Linked DNA regions of Homo sapiens: all the other regions are linked to region 2. Evidence: promoter capture Hi-C in 16 types of primary human blood cells and fetal thymus (Javierre and others, 2016). All regions are on one chromosome and are shown on one strand. The core of a region is centred on a gene start or on the middle of the fragment in contact, and the rest is flanking DNA. Distances in the headings are between cores, read along the strand shown. Region 1 overlaps NHSL2 (NHS like 2). Region 2 holds the start of ERCC6L (ERCC excision repair 6 like, spindle assembly checkpoint helicase). Region 3 overlaps NHSL2 (NHS like 2).

The links. Contacts are between HindIII fragments. The CHiCAGO score rates a contact against its expected background, and 5 or more counts as called.
Region 1: a contact is called between a fragment that was not itself captured here and the fragment with the promoter of ERCC6L in region 2, in 1 of 17 cell types (neutrophils). The highest score is 6.0, in neutrophils.
Region 3: a fragment that was not itself captured here is called in contact with the fragment with the promoter of ERCC6L in region 2 in 1 of 17 cell types (neutrophils); the score reaches 5.7 in neutrophils.

What each region holds. Positions count from the first base shown.
Region 1 is chrX:72,027,332-72,031,906 of GRCh38, reverse strand. The region is part of intron 1 of NHSL2 (NHS like 2); the gene reads right to left. Among named protein-coding and RNA genes, the nearest start is that of RTL5, 100 kb to the left of the region's middle. The HindIII fragment of the contact is 2,483 bases long and covers 368-2,850 here.
Region 2 is chrX:72,237,305-72,241,912 of GRCh38, reverse strand. ERCC6L (ERCC excision repair 6 like, spindle assembly checkpoint helicase) reads left to right here and starts at 2,886. Exons shown (of 2, transcript NM_017669.4): 1 at 2,886-3,069. The coding sequence starts at 3,002. It also overlaps a transcript of PIN4 not described here. RefSeq lists an enhancer at 2,955-3,104. The HindIII fragment of the contact is 5,695 bases long and covers 1,439-4,608 here.
Region 3 is chrX:72,010,956-72,015,525 of GRCh38, reverse strand. All of the region lies in intron 1 of NHSL2 (NHS like 2), which reads right to left. Among named protein-coding and RNA genes, the nearest start is that of NHSL2, 100 kb to the right of the region's middle. The HindIII fragment of the contact is 1,307 bases long and covers 2,155-3,461 here.

The DNA of each region.
Region 1 (4,575 bases), core at 360-2,859, 210 kb after region 2:
GTCAACATTGTAAAACTGAGTAAAGGGTCACCAGATCCACCTTGTAAATTTTTTTGCAACTTCCCTTGAGTCTAAAATTGCAAAATAAAAAGCTTTTAAAAAGGGTTAATGTGTTCACTTGATATATTTATTTCCTAACATGTCAGAACTGGTTTTTTTTTTTTTTTTTTCCAAGCGAGGTCTTAAGCCAGTGTGTTGGAAAGGAGCGAGAAAGCAGGAAAGGGGCAAACCAGCATTTGCTGAGAACCAGCTCTGGGCCAGACAATTCACATACATGATCTAATTTAATTCTCATGACAACACTGACAAGGTTGGCACTTTAATCCCATCTCACAGATGAAAATGAGTCCTAGAGAGGTTCAAAGCTTGTCCAAGCTAGTTGTTAATAATTCTTAATTGAAGCTAATAATTCCTAATTAAAGCTAATAATTAGTAAGTGCTTATGTGTGCTAAGTGCTACACATGAAATAGCTCATTTAATACTCACAATAGCTGTGTAAGGTAGGTACTACAATTACTCTCATTCTATAGATATGGGACCTGAGGCTCAGAGAGGTTAAGTGACCTGCCCAAGATCACACAGCATGGAAGAGGTGGAACCAGGATCCAAAACAGGTGTGTAGGAGTCTGATGCTCTTTTCCTCGGCCCCAAGACACCTCCCAAAGCAAAGTGGAATAAGAGATGTATTTCTGATTCAAAGGCAGAAATGAGCCCTCCTTGGTGCCCTCAATTAAGCCCCATGCAGTCTCCTACACAGACCCTAGAACTCTTTATTGCACATATACCTTCACACGTCCGCCTCTCCTTCCGAGTGTTAAATTATGTAAGCTCCTTGAGGGATAGAACCATGGTTTACTCATGTTCGTGACCTTAGAGCTTGCCACAAGGTAGGGACACAACCGATGTCTGCTGCATAAAAGAAGCTGGAGATCACTTTAAATCCTATGAACGATTCTCTCCTCACTAAGGGGGCTGGAACTGGGAGTATTTGGGAGCCCACTCCTACCTGCATTGGGTAGTTGGGTGGACTTGGCTCTCTTTAATCCTTTGTTACAACTGGTGATGTGCTGGAGCCAGTCTGCTTGGCTCACCAGAGCCAATTGTTAAATTTTCATAATTTTGTGAGCCAGTTGTTAAACTGTTGGTAGCTCGAAATTAGCCATAGCAGGAATATTTATACCACAAAATTGGCAAAAGCTACAAAGCAGGGCACCCCATTACACACACCAGAACTGGTTGTTAAACATTTACCAGCATGCCACTGATCACAAACATTTGATTGCAGCACTTGGTGCGTGTAAATACCAAATGGAAGGGGCAAAAGTAAGCCTTCTGGGGTGCTGCGAATGTTCTATATTTTGATCTGGGTGGTGGTTACACACAGATGTATACACACACACACACACACATATACATATACAACTTCATTGAAATGTACATTTACAGTGTGCTTTATGCAATTTACTGTATATATGCTTTCCTCAGTAAAAAAGAACTCCCAGACTGTGCACAAAGCTGTGATTGATTCTGAGTGCCCCCTGCGGAGACCCCACTTATCAGAATGCACAGATGAACCCCAGTGGTATTGATCAGTGTCACCAATAACACAGCCCAGTCCAGTGCATTTTTTATTGCACAGGACGGGGCAAAGGTGAGCCAAACAGCTGCTGGCAGCAGGAATCCAGTTCCCTTCATGTCTTTTCTTCGTCATAGCTACTGTCATCTCTCACCTCTGTTATTCCTGGCTCTGTGGCTAGGGTCAGTGCTGTTTGCTGACAGGCAGCATGACTCATTATTCGGCAGATCATTTTTCTGATTAAGTGGGGAGATGGATGGATATTTTCCCATACTTGGGCAGAAACCTCATTCCCTTGGATTCCTTTCCTGAAATTACTCAGCTTTACATTTAAGGGGTGGTTTTCTCCACTTTTTTTTTCTTTAATAGTACACATAACGTTTAGCTCTCCTCAAACAATCAGACTTGCAGAGAAAATGGAGAGGAAAACAAAGTGATTCCCAAAAATGCACCCTTACAAGGGAGAGGGAACAATCTTTCAAGGGCTTCTTTCATGAAGTCACCCTAGATGGGAAGGCCCAGCTGCTGGCAAGCATTCAACTTTCCTGACATAAGCCCCTGACATTTTCTCCGCCTCCCCTCCACCAGCCACCCTTCTGCACCACTTGCTTGGAGTAGCTGCTTTGTTCTGCAAAGGAATGACAGGAGCTCTGAGGGCTTGCAGCCAGAGCCCAGCAATCCAAGAAGTGGGCAGAGCATGTGCGAGGGCAGTAGGCCTACCTGCAGGAGTGGGCAGTTGAGCTTGGAGGTATCCCTTCCTGAGGAGGCAGGAGCAGCCACAGTGGGATTGGAAGGGTGGACAAGGATAAGTTAGCAAAGTGCTACTGTCATAGCCTCAGGACATCATGGCCTATTCCCTATCCCTTTTCCAGGCTCACAAATAACCCTTTAGATAAGCCCAGTTCAGTCGCAAACACCCAGTGCAGTGGTAGCTGGGCTATGAGGATTTGTTTTTAAGTAGGGTGGTGGCAGCCCCGAGCAGGCCAATTCAGCCCTCTCAGCTGAAGTCATGAAGCTCACCCATTGGCTCCACCACTCCCATTTCTGCTTGAGCAGGGTGAGAGCAGAGTACACAGGCGCTGGCATTGGTCTCACTGCCCTTCCTCTGTATGCATTAGGTCCTTGTGTGAGCTGCCAGTTATGACTCCAGTCCTGAACCCCAACCCTACTTGGACAGGGTTAGACTCTGCCTTGCTTTTGCCGGGCCTTTTCTCCTGGGGGATACTTCCTATATCATACACACATACATGCTTGTCTATGCCATGCCTAAGCTTTCCACACCCAAAGGACCACCCAAGAGCCAGTATTCCCAACCCTATCCCTTCCCCAACAGCCAGGTGGCTGAGATCCCAGCATGCCTCCTGCCCAAGTTATGACAACTTACTTAAATCACAAAGACCAAAGTCCTTAGATGTTCTTGGCAAATCCAAACAACGCTTGGTCCACATATGATGCTGAGGACCCAACCAGGGGCCCAGCTCTACCGACAATGTCCAAAGAAGGCCTGGGCCACCCCTTCTGTCAGGGAGGGGTTAGGCTGAACTTGTGGATCCCTGTTGTTTCCTGACCTTCAAAATCCTTCCCAGTGGCTGAGGTAATGTTTGGGACCCAGGCCCAAATCTCTTTCAAGAGAGAGTGTTGTCAAATGAGATGTACCCACTCTAGTGCCAACAATGTCAGCACCTATCATGACCTTATCATGTCACCTCAGTACACTAGAAGCTAGTGCCCCTTCCTCTCTCAAATCAGCTGAGGGGTGAGGGAAAGGGAGGAGTAGAGATCTGGGGAAGGAGGCCAGGCGGAAGGACCTGCTGCCATATTGGATTGCTGGTTCCCTGACACCAGTGACGGGCACCAATAGGCATTTAACTGATGCTTGCTGATTAAATACACAAATAAATGAATGAATTATTCCTAAAATAATAGGGGAAAACATCCTTGAGCTCACAGAAATCTCGAGCTCTCCTTGAATCTCTATCACAAACCCAGTTTGCCTTCTCTACCTCTTCCTTTGTGCTTCCCCCTTTCAGCTGAGTAGCATTAAGTCATTTTCCCTGAAGTGTAAACTGAAGTCCTTAAAAGCTAAAAGCCTTGCTTGTAGTCATCCAACAAAGTTGAAAAAAGTAAGCCCAAGAAGACCTTGAGTGGCTCCTGGCCCACTGCACATGCAGCTGGAGCAGACTGAATCCCATTCACCTTAGCTGAGTGGTTCCATGCCACCAGAGTCACAGATGGCTGGGGCTGGACATGTTGCCATCTGCTTTTCTCATAGGGTTCCTAGCACCCTCTGGCCTCCATTCCTCTAGCAGCAGCAGTGGCAGCAGCAGCAGCAGCGGCAGCAGCAGCAGCAGCAAACTCAACACCTCACACTCCTAAACTCCCACCCATCATGGGTTTGGTAGGCAACTCACGAGGGTGGAGGTAGGCCAGGCTGCATGGACCAAGCCTCCTTCTGACCCTTAATACAAAACCCCTAGTGGAGTCACCAAAGCCCACCCATCTCCTTCCTGCCTCGGTTACCAAGGTTCTCGGAGGTCTTGAGAGTTCCCTTCCGCCTCCCACAGGGTCTGTGTTGGACACTCCCCAGACTTCCCTGACAGGGTGAAGGTTAAAATGTCCAGACCACGTACCTACTCATTCCAGCCACTTGTCCAGCTGTCCTCCAAACTGTGTGCTCAGGAGCTGAAGGAGGGACCAGGTGAGAGGACGAGGCTGCTGGGGAAAGCCCTGGGCTCTGGAACCTCCTGGCCAAGTTCACCAAATTTCCAGACGAAGGACGGAGGAGAGACGAGCAAATGAGAGAAAGGAAAGGAGGCAGGACCAAAGCTAACCCCTTCTTTTTTCTTCCTAAACTCAATCCAGATTCGCCTTCTGAGGGCTGCTTGAAACTGATCCCCGCGGCTCTGACTCGTCCTTTCTTAAAGACATAGTCTCCGCTTTGGAGGTGGGGAGTGAGGAAAACCCCACCTAGCCAAAAGATGTCCAGGAGCAAAAGATG
Region 2 (4,608 bases), core at 1,637-4,136:
GGGTATCCAGGGCGCCTGGACTCTCAACTCATCCTTAGCTCCTTTGTGCTGCTATAATAAAATGCCATAGACTCAAACTCATATTTTTTTTTTTTGAGACGGAGTTTCGCTCTTGTTGCCCAGGCTGGAGTGCCAATGGCGTGATCTTGGCTCACCACAACCTCCGCCTCCCAGGTTCAAGTGATTCTCCTGCCTCAGCCTCCCAAGTAGCTGGGATTACAGGCATGTGCCACCATGCCCGGCTAATTTTGCATTTTTAGTAGAGACAGGGTTTCTCCGTCAGGCTGGTCTCGAACTCCCGACCTCAGATGATCTGCCCGCCTCAGCCTCCCAAAGGGCGGGATTACAGGCGTGAGCCTCCTCACCTGGCCATCAAACTCATAATTTATAAACAATAGAAATGTATTTATTATGGTTCTGGAGGCTGAAGAGTCCAAGATGAAGGTGCCAGCAGGATTGGTATCTGGTGAGGGCTGCTCTCTGCTTCCAAGATGGTGCCTTGTTGCTGCATCCTCTGGAGGGGAAGGAATAGTGTGTCCTTACATGGTAGGAAAGCAGAAGAGCAAAAAGGGCCTAAACTAGCTCCCTCCAGCCCTTTCATAAGGCACTAATTTATTCATGAAGTAGGATCCCTCATGACATTACTTGCTAAAAGGCCCCGCCTCTCAATGCCACCATGGTGGGGATTAAGTTTCAACACAAGAATTTTGAAGGACATTCAGACCATAGCACAGCCCAATCCAAGCTTGCCTCCAGGAAAAGATGTGATTCAAACACTTTAGCAGAGTAAACAAGTTCCTTCATAACCTGGCCTTCAACTGCCTCATCAACCTCATTTCCCGCCACTGCCCTCTTCTTTCCAGTGTGACACAGCGAAACGGCACAGATTTGTGTCCATATGGACCTAGTATTGAATTCTGGCTCTGCTGCTTCCTAGCTCAGGAAGCTTAGATGAAGTCAATTTATCTCTCTGAGCCTGTTTCCACATCTGAAAAATGTGGATAATAGTATACTAAAAGGCCTCTTAATAAAGGCCTTAAAGTCATACAAACCAGGAAAATAGCCCATGTTCTCCAAGATCCCCCACCTCCCCCCAACCCTTTTCTTTTTTTTGAGATGGAGTCTTGCTCTGTCGCCCAGGCTGGAGTGCAATGGCACGATCTCAGCTCACTGCAACGTCTGCCTCCTGGGTTCAAGCGATTCTTCCACCCCAGCCTCCCGAGAAGCTGGGATTACAGGCACCCGCCACCATGCCCAGCTAATTTTTGTAGAGACGGGGGTTTCACCATTTGGCCAGGCTGGTCTTGAACTCCTGACCTCAGGTGATCCGCCCGCCTCGGCCTCCCAAAGTGCTGGGATTACAGGTTCAGTGAGCCACTGAACCCGGCCTCCAACATTCCTTTTAACTCATAACGGTCTATAAATTTTATGAAAAGCTTAAAATTCTCTGGACATATGATGTATGACTGGGCCAATAGGTGAGTTTTCCAATACTGAATGCTAAATTAGTGTCTTGAGGAGTCATGTCTGTGTTCTTAACAGTATATGAACAAGGACAATTTTTGTTGGCCCACAACCTCCTATTTAGTGTCACCCAAGCAAGCCACTTAAACTCAATCACATTTCCTTAAGCTCTAGGCTCTGCCTTCTTTTTAGGCTCTGCATTTGAAAATGACTGTATCTTAGTTGGTGCTTCTGAAGAAATGATGACCACAGCACTACTTCTTTTTTTTTAAATTATTTTTGTCTTCCTTTTATTATACCAAGTATGTGAACCTAGTTACTTATTTCTTAAATAAGAACTTTAATTTTTTTTTTTTTTTTGAGATGGAGTCTTTCTCTGTCACCCAGGCTGGAGTGCAGTGGCATGATCTTGGCTCACTGCAGCCTCCACCTCCAGGGTTTGAGATTCTTGAAGACCCTTCTCTCTTTCTCTCTCTCTTTTTAAGAAAATAAATACAGCATAACGCCCTGTGGAGAAGAAAAAAATTTTTTTTAAAGAGACGGGAGTCTCACCATGTTGCCCAGGCTGGTCTCGAACTCCTAAGTGCAAGTGATCCTCCCACCTTAGCCTCCCAAAAGGCTAGGATAACAGGCGTGAGGCACTGCACCCAGCCTTTTTTTTTTTTTTTTTTTTTTTTGAGATGGAGTCTCGCTTTGCCACCCAGGCTGGAGTGCAGTGGTGCAATCCCGGCTCACTGCAACCTCCACCTCCTGGGTCCAAGCGATTCTCGTGCCTCAGCCACCCGAGTAGCTGGGACTGCGGGCGCCCGCCACCACGCCCGGCTAATTTTTTGTATTTTTAGTAGAGACGGGGTGTCACCATTTTAGCCAGGTTGGTCTCGAACTCCTGACCTCACGTGATCCGCCCGCCCCGGTCTCCCAAAGTGCTGGGATTACAGGCGTGAACCACCGCGTCTGGTCGCTTCTTCAATGTTAGTTTAAATCACAGGGACTATGCCTCCCAGGGTGTTTGAATTCAAAGCACGGTCAGTGCCAGGTACTGGCGATCAAGGAAGGGAAGATATCTGTGGATGCGGGGCAGGGTATGGTTGGGGGACGCAGGCGTTGGAGATCTCCAGGGGTCGCCGCAATGACTGGGATCATATCGGGCAGTCTCCTCCACTCACAATGATGGCACACGCACGCGCGAACGAATTGGCTGCAGCATGGTTTGAATTGGATTGAAACGCGAGGGATCACAGACTGAGGCAGCACACTCCGTGTCTCGAAGGCAGAGATCACCTTCTGCTTCCCGGCGCGCGTAGGCGCAGGCGCCCACCGTCATGGGCGGGGCTCAGGCGGAGGCGTCGCAGCGCGTGGTCGCGGATTGGCCGGCCGCGAGGCCGTCGGTTGGCTGTGTCCCTCTCCACGGCGCACAGAGCATGCGCGGGGCGGGAGTGAGCGAAATTCAAGCTCCAAACTCTAAGCTCCAAGCTCCAAGCTCCAAGCTCCAAGCTCCAAACTCCCGCCGGGGTAACTGGAACCCAATCCGAGGGTCATGGAGGCATCCCGAAGGTTTCCGGAAGCCGAGGCCTTGAGCCCAGAGCAGGCTGCTCATTACCTAAGGTATGTCTGGACCGCTGGGCGGGTCTAGCTAACCGACCTGGCCCAGGGTGGAGGTGGGGTGGCCCCCGGATCCTCCTGGGGACCCGAACTGTTGAGGCGGAGCCTTTTGAGACGCGCGCTCGCGCTCTTCTCGCAGTAGGGTGTGGGAGTCAGCTCTGGATGTTTGACCAGATTTCTAAAACCTGAGGAGACCCCGATGCCTCTTCTTTTGGGCAAATGACCCTCCAGTATGGTCTCCTTAAAAGCCAGAGGAGCCTTAATTAATCAAGCCCTTCTTGATTCTTTTCAGCTTATCAAGCCCTAAGTCTAGGGGATACAGAGATGAGTAAAACAAGGTCCCCGCCCCCAAATTGTTTGTAATCTAGTAGTGGAAACGGATCTGTAAAGCAATAATTACTAGGTTTGATAAGTGCTGTAAGAGGTATAATGTACGTGCAGGGCACAGTGTTGGCATAAAAGAGGGAATGGCCAACTACAAGGGTGGTCAGCTAAGGGATGGCGTGGCAAGAGGAGACATTTGAGCTAGGCGTTGAAAAATGAGTAAACATTCACCAGTTGGCTAAGGGTGGGGGGCGTGGTAATGTTGGGATGAGAATTTAAATTTTTTCTTAAATTGTGGTAAAGTACACATAACATAAATTTTATCTTTTTGTGCAGAAACTGGGTTTTATGAAAAATAAAGTTTATCATCCTAACCATTTTTAAATGTACAGTTCAGTAGTGTTGACTACATTCATATTGTTGTGCAGCCGTCCGTCATCTCCAGAACTTTTCTCATGTGGCAAAACTGAAACTACTCCCATTAAACAAACTCCCCATTTCCCCCTCCCTTCAGCCCCTAGCAACCATTATTCTGTCTCTGTGAATTTTACTGCTTTAATTTTTTTTGAGACAGGGTCTTGCTGTGTCGCCCAGACTGGAATTCAGTGGCCTGATCATAGTTCACTGCAGCCTCGAACTCCTGGGCTCAAGCAGTCCTCCTGCCCCAGCCTCCCTAGTAGCTGGGACTTAAGGTGGGTGCCACCATGTCCAGCCAATTTATTATTTTACTATTGTTGTTTTATATATATTTTTAGAGACAGGGTCTGGCTCTGTCACCCAGGCTGGAGTGCAGTGGCGCGATCTCTAACTCAGCTCACTGCAACTTCCATCCCCCGGGGCTCATGCGATCCTCCCACCTGTTTCCGGAGTAGCTGGGACCACAGGCGCACACCACCACACCCAGCTATTTTTTTTTTTTCTTTTTTTGATACAGTCTCGCTCTGTCACCCAGGCTGGAGTGCAGTGGCGCGGTCTGGGCTCACAGCAAGCTCCGCCTTCCGGGTTCACGCCATTCTCCTGCCTCAGCCTCCCGAGTAGCTGGGACTACAGGCGCCCGCTAACACACCCGGCTAATTTTTTGTATTTTTGGTAGAGACGGGGTTTCACCGTGTTAGCCGGGATGGTCTCAATCTCCTGACCTCGTGATCCGCCCGCCTCGGCCTCCCAAAGTATTTTTTTTGTGTTTTTAGTAGAGACAGGGTCTCGCCATGTTGCCCA
Region 3 (4,570 bases), core at 1,559-4,058, 230 kb after region 2:
CCACTTAGCATCTATCATGAAGAAACTCCTGCACGTGTACACAAATGTTTATTGAATGGATGTTTATTGAAAGATTGTGTTAGCCACCACAATTAAGAAACAACCTAAAAGTTCATCAATGGGTGAATAGTTAAATAAATCCTGATAAAAGTCATACTCTGCAAAGTTACATAACATTTTAAAAGAATAAGTTAGGACTTCTGCTTCTGGGAAGATGGAATGACATACTTTTCCCTGGTCCTCCCTCTAAAGCACAACAAAAAACCGTGAGCATTATATATAAAATGAACACAAAAAGACTGGAGAGGAGGTGGAGAGAAGAATGTACACCTGCAAGAGACCTCAGGACTCAAGGAACGGCATGTGGTGAGTTCCCTGGATTTTTGTTTTGCCTCATATATCCCAGAGTTGAAGCTGAAAAAGTCTGCAAACTGAAAATACCAACAGGGGCAGATTTTTTAAAAATCATGCTCTCTTACCAAGACAGAAATTTTTATACACTAATTCTTTAGCCAAATACCACAGAAAAAAATATGTGGTCCCGTTCCCAACCCCACCAGCAAAGGAGGGGTTGAAAACATAGCTTTTCACCCTTGCTAAGCTATAACCAGGTGCCCCAAATTTCCCCACTGGGGTGAAGTCAGAGAAGGCTGAGCAGGCATCTGGGATAGACCTACTAGATAGAAAATCAGCAAGGGTATATAGGAACTCAACAACACCCTCAAACAACAGGATTTGATTTGACATTTATAGAACATCTCATCCAACAGCAGAAGAGTACACATCCTTTTCAAGTGCCCATGGAATACAAAACATGTTAGACATATCCTGTGTCATAAAACAAATGTCAACAAATTTAAAATAATTGAAATCAAATGAAATGTATTCTGTGACCAAATTGGAAATCAATAACAGAAAGATAAGAAAATATCTAAAACTTGAAAAATAAACAACACACTTTAAAATAACCCATGGGTCAAATATGAAAATTTAAATTTCAAGATAAATTTTAAAAATACATTGAACTGAATCAAAATGAAAATACAACATAGAAAAATTTATGAGATGCAACTAAAGCAATGCTTAAAAAGAAGTTTATAGCTCCAAATGCTTATACTATAAAAGAAAAAAGGTCTCAAATCAATCATCTAAGTTCCTACCTCAAGTAACTAGAACAAGGAGAGCAAAATAAAGCCAAAGCAAACAGAAGGAAGAAAATAATAAAAATAACAGCATAAATAAGCAGAATTGAAAATAGAAAAATAGAGAAAATCAATGAAATAAAGAGCTGCTTCTTTGAAAAGATCAGTAAGATTGACAAACCTCTAGCAAGACATACAAATTGCTCATATCAGGAAGGAAATGAATATCACTACAGAGCCTTCAGACATCAAATGGGTAATAAGGGAATACTATGAACAATGCTACATGCTTTGACAACTTTGATGAAACAGACCAATTTCTTGAAAAATATAAACTTCCCAAATCTACCAAATATGAAATAGATGATTTGAATAGCCCTATAACTATTAAAAACATGAAATTCATAATTTTAAAACTACTCCCTTTAAAATCTCCAGGTCCAGATGGTTTCACTGGAGAATTCTACCAAATGTTTAAAGAATTGTATGCTAATTCTACACAATCAGTGTAACAAACTAATAGAAATCACATGATCATATTAATCAATGCAGAAAAAGCATTTGATAAAATCTAACACTTATTATAAGTTAAAAAAAACTCTGAGAAATAGGGCAAAAAGGGAACTTCCTTAACTTGAGCATCTACATACAACTTACACCAAATATATATATATTTTTTTCTGGATCAAGCAATATTAGACTTATACCTAACATTAAACACAATGCTTGAAAGACTAAATGCTTTCCCCCTCAGATTGGAAACAAGGCAAGGATCTCTGCTCTCACCACCTTAATTCAACATAGTGTTGGAAGTTCTAACCAGTGTAATAAGGCAAAAAAAAAAAAAGAAGAAAAAAGAAAAGATAAAACATGTAGATTATAAAAGAATAAATAAAACTGCTCCTATTTGGAGACGGCATTATAGTCTACATAGAAAATCCCAAGGAATCTACAAGACAATTCCTAGAACTAATAAGTGAGCTTAGCAAGGTTGCAGGATACAAGATAAGCTTGCAAAAATAAATTGTATTTCTATATACTAGCAATGAACACATGGATGCTGAAATTAAAAATACAGTGCCATTTACACTTGCTCAAGAACAAAATACTTAAGTGTAAATGTAACAAGATATGTATAGCGCTTATATGCTGAAAACTACAAAATGCTGATGACAGAAATCAAAGAAGACCTAAATAGAGAAAGAAATATGCCACATTCATGGATCAGAAGACTTAACATAGTAAAGATGTTAGTTCTCCCCAAATTTATGTATAGTTTTAGCTCAATCTCTATCAAAATTCCAGGAGGATATTTTAAACATAGACAAGTTTATTCCAAAATTTATATGGAAAGGCAAAGAAACTAGAATAGCCAAAACAATTTTGAAAAGGGAGAATAAAGTGGGAGGAATCACTCTATCCAATTTCAGGACTTATTATGTAGCTACAATAATCAAGACTATGTAGTATTGGTGGAGGGACAGACACACAGATCAATGAAACAGAGTAGAGAACCTAGAAATAGACCCACACAAATATGCCCCACTGATTTTCAACAAAGGTACAAAAGCAATTCAATGGAAGAAAGATAGCCTTTTTGAATGGTGCTGGAGCAACTGGACATAGACCAAAAAATGAACTTTGACCTGTGTAGTGGGCTGAATGGTGCCCTCCCAAAAGATACGTCTACGTCCTGATTCCCGGAGCCTAGGGATGTTACCTTATTTGGAAGATGAGCTTTTGCAAGTATAATTAAGATGAGGAGATCATTCTGGATTCAAGTGAGTCCTAAATCTAATGACACGTATCCTTATAAGACGGACACACAGAGGAGATGATGATGTGAAGATGGAGGTAGAGATTGCAGTGACATGGCCATAAGCCAAGGAGTATTGGCAGCCCGCAGAAGCGGGACTAGACAAGGAAGGATCCTCTCCTAGAGCCTCCAGAGGGAGTGCAACCCTGCCCACACCTTAAGCTCAGACTTCTGGCCTCCACAATCATGAGAGAATACATTCTGTTGTTTAAAGCTACCAAGTTTACAGTTACTTGTTACGGCAGCCTCAGGAAATGATATAATCTATCTCACACCTTATACAAAAAAAAAATCAACAAAATGGATCAGAAACTTAAATGTAAAATTATAAAATTTTTAGGAAGAAACAGGAAAGTGTTTGGAATCTAAAGCTAGCCATATAAGCCAGACCTTATACTTGAAAACCAAAACACATCCAAAAAAACAAAATTGATAAATTGGACTTCATCAAAATTAGCAAGTTTTGTTCTATGGAGTCCTTGTTAAGAGGATGAGAAAAAGCTTCAGACCAAGAGAAAATGTTTGCAAACCATATGTCTGACAAAGGACTGGTATCTAAAATGTATAAAGAACTGTCAAAACTCGACAGTTAAAAATTCAAACAACTCAACCAGAAAATGGGCTAAAGACATAAATAGACAAGTCACTGAAGAAGATATACAGATGGCAAAGAAGCTCATGAAACAATGTTCAACATCACTAATCTTAGGGGAATGAGAATTGAAACCAGAATGAGATATTACTTCACACCTAGAGAAGAACGGCTAAAAGGGAAAACAGTGAGAACACCAAATGATGATGAGGATGCCAAGAAACTGGAATCCTCATACATTGCTGGTGGGAATGTAAAATGGTACAGCCGCTCTGGAAAACAGTTTGCCAGTTTTGTTTTTTTTTTGAGATGGAGTCTCGCTCTGTCATCCAGGCTGGAGTGCAGTGGCAAGATCTCAGCTCACTGCAACCTCCACCTCCCAGGTTGAAGCAATTCTCCTGCCTCAGCCTCCCAAGTAGCTGGGACTACAGGTGCGCACCACCACGCCTGGCTAATCTTTGTATTTTTAGTAGAGATGGGGTTTCACCGTGTTGGCCACGATGGTCTTGATCTCCTGACCTCGTGATCCGCCCACCTTGGCCTCCCAAAGTGCTGGGATTACAGGTGTGAGCCACCGCACCTGGCCGTCAGTTTTTTGTTTTTTGTTTTTTAAACTAAACATGCAATTACCATATGACTCAGCAATTGTACTCTTGGGCATTTATCCCAGAGAAATGAAAACTTATTTCCACATAAAAACCTGTTACGTGAAGGTTTATAGCAGCATTATTTATAAGAGCCCAAAACTGGGAATAACCCACATGCCCTTCAGTGGGTGAATGGATAAACGGTCTTTGATACATCCATGCCATGGAAGACTACTCGGCAATAAAAAGGAGCAGATTATTGGAAAAGGGGTAGGGGCAGACTATTGATACACGCAACAACCTGGATGGATCTCCAGAAAATTATGCTGACTGAAAACAAAATCCCTAAAGTTTGCATACTGTGTGATTCTATTTTACTACATAACCTGGTTGAAACAACTGTATTTTAGAAATGGAGAATAGATGAGTGGTC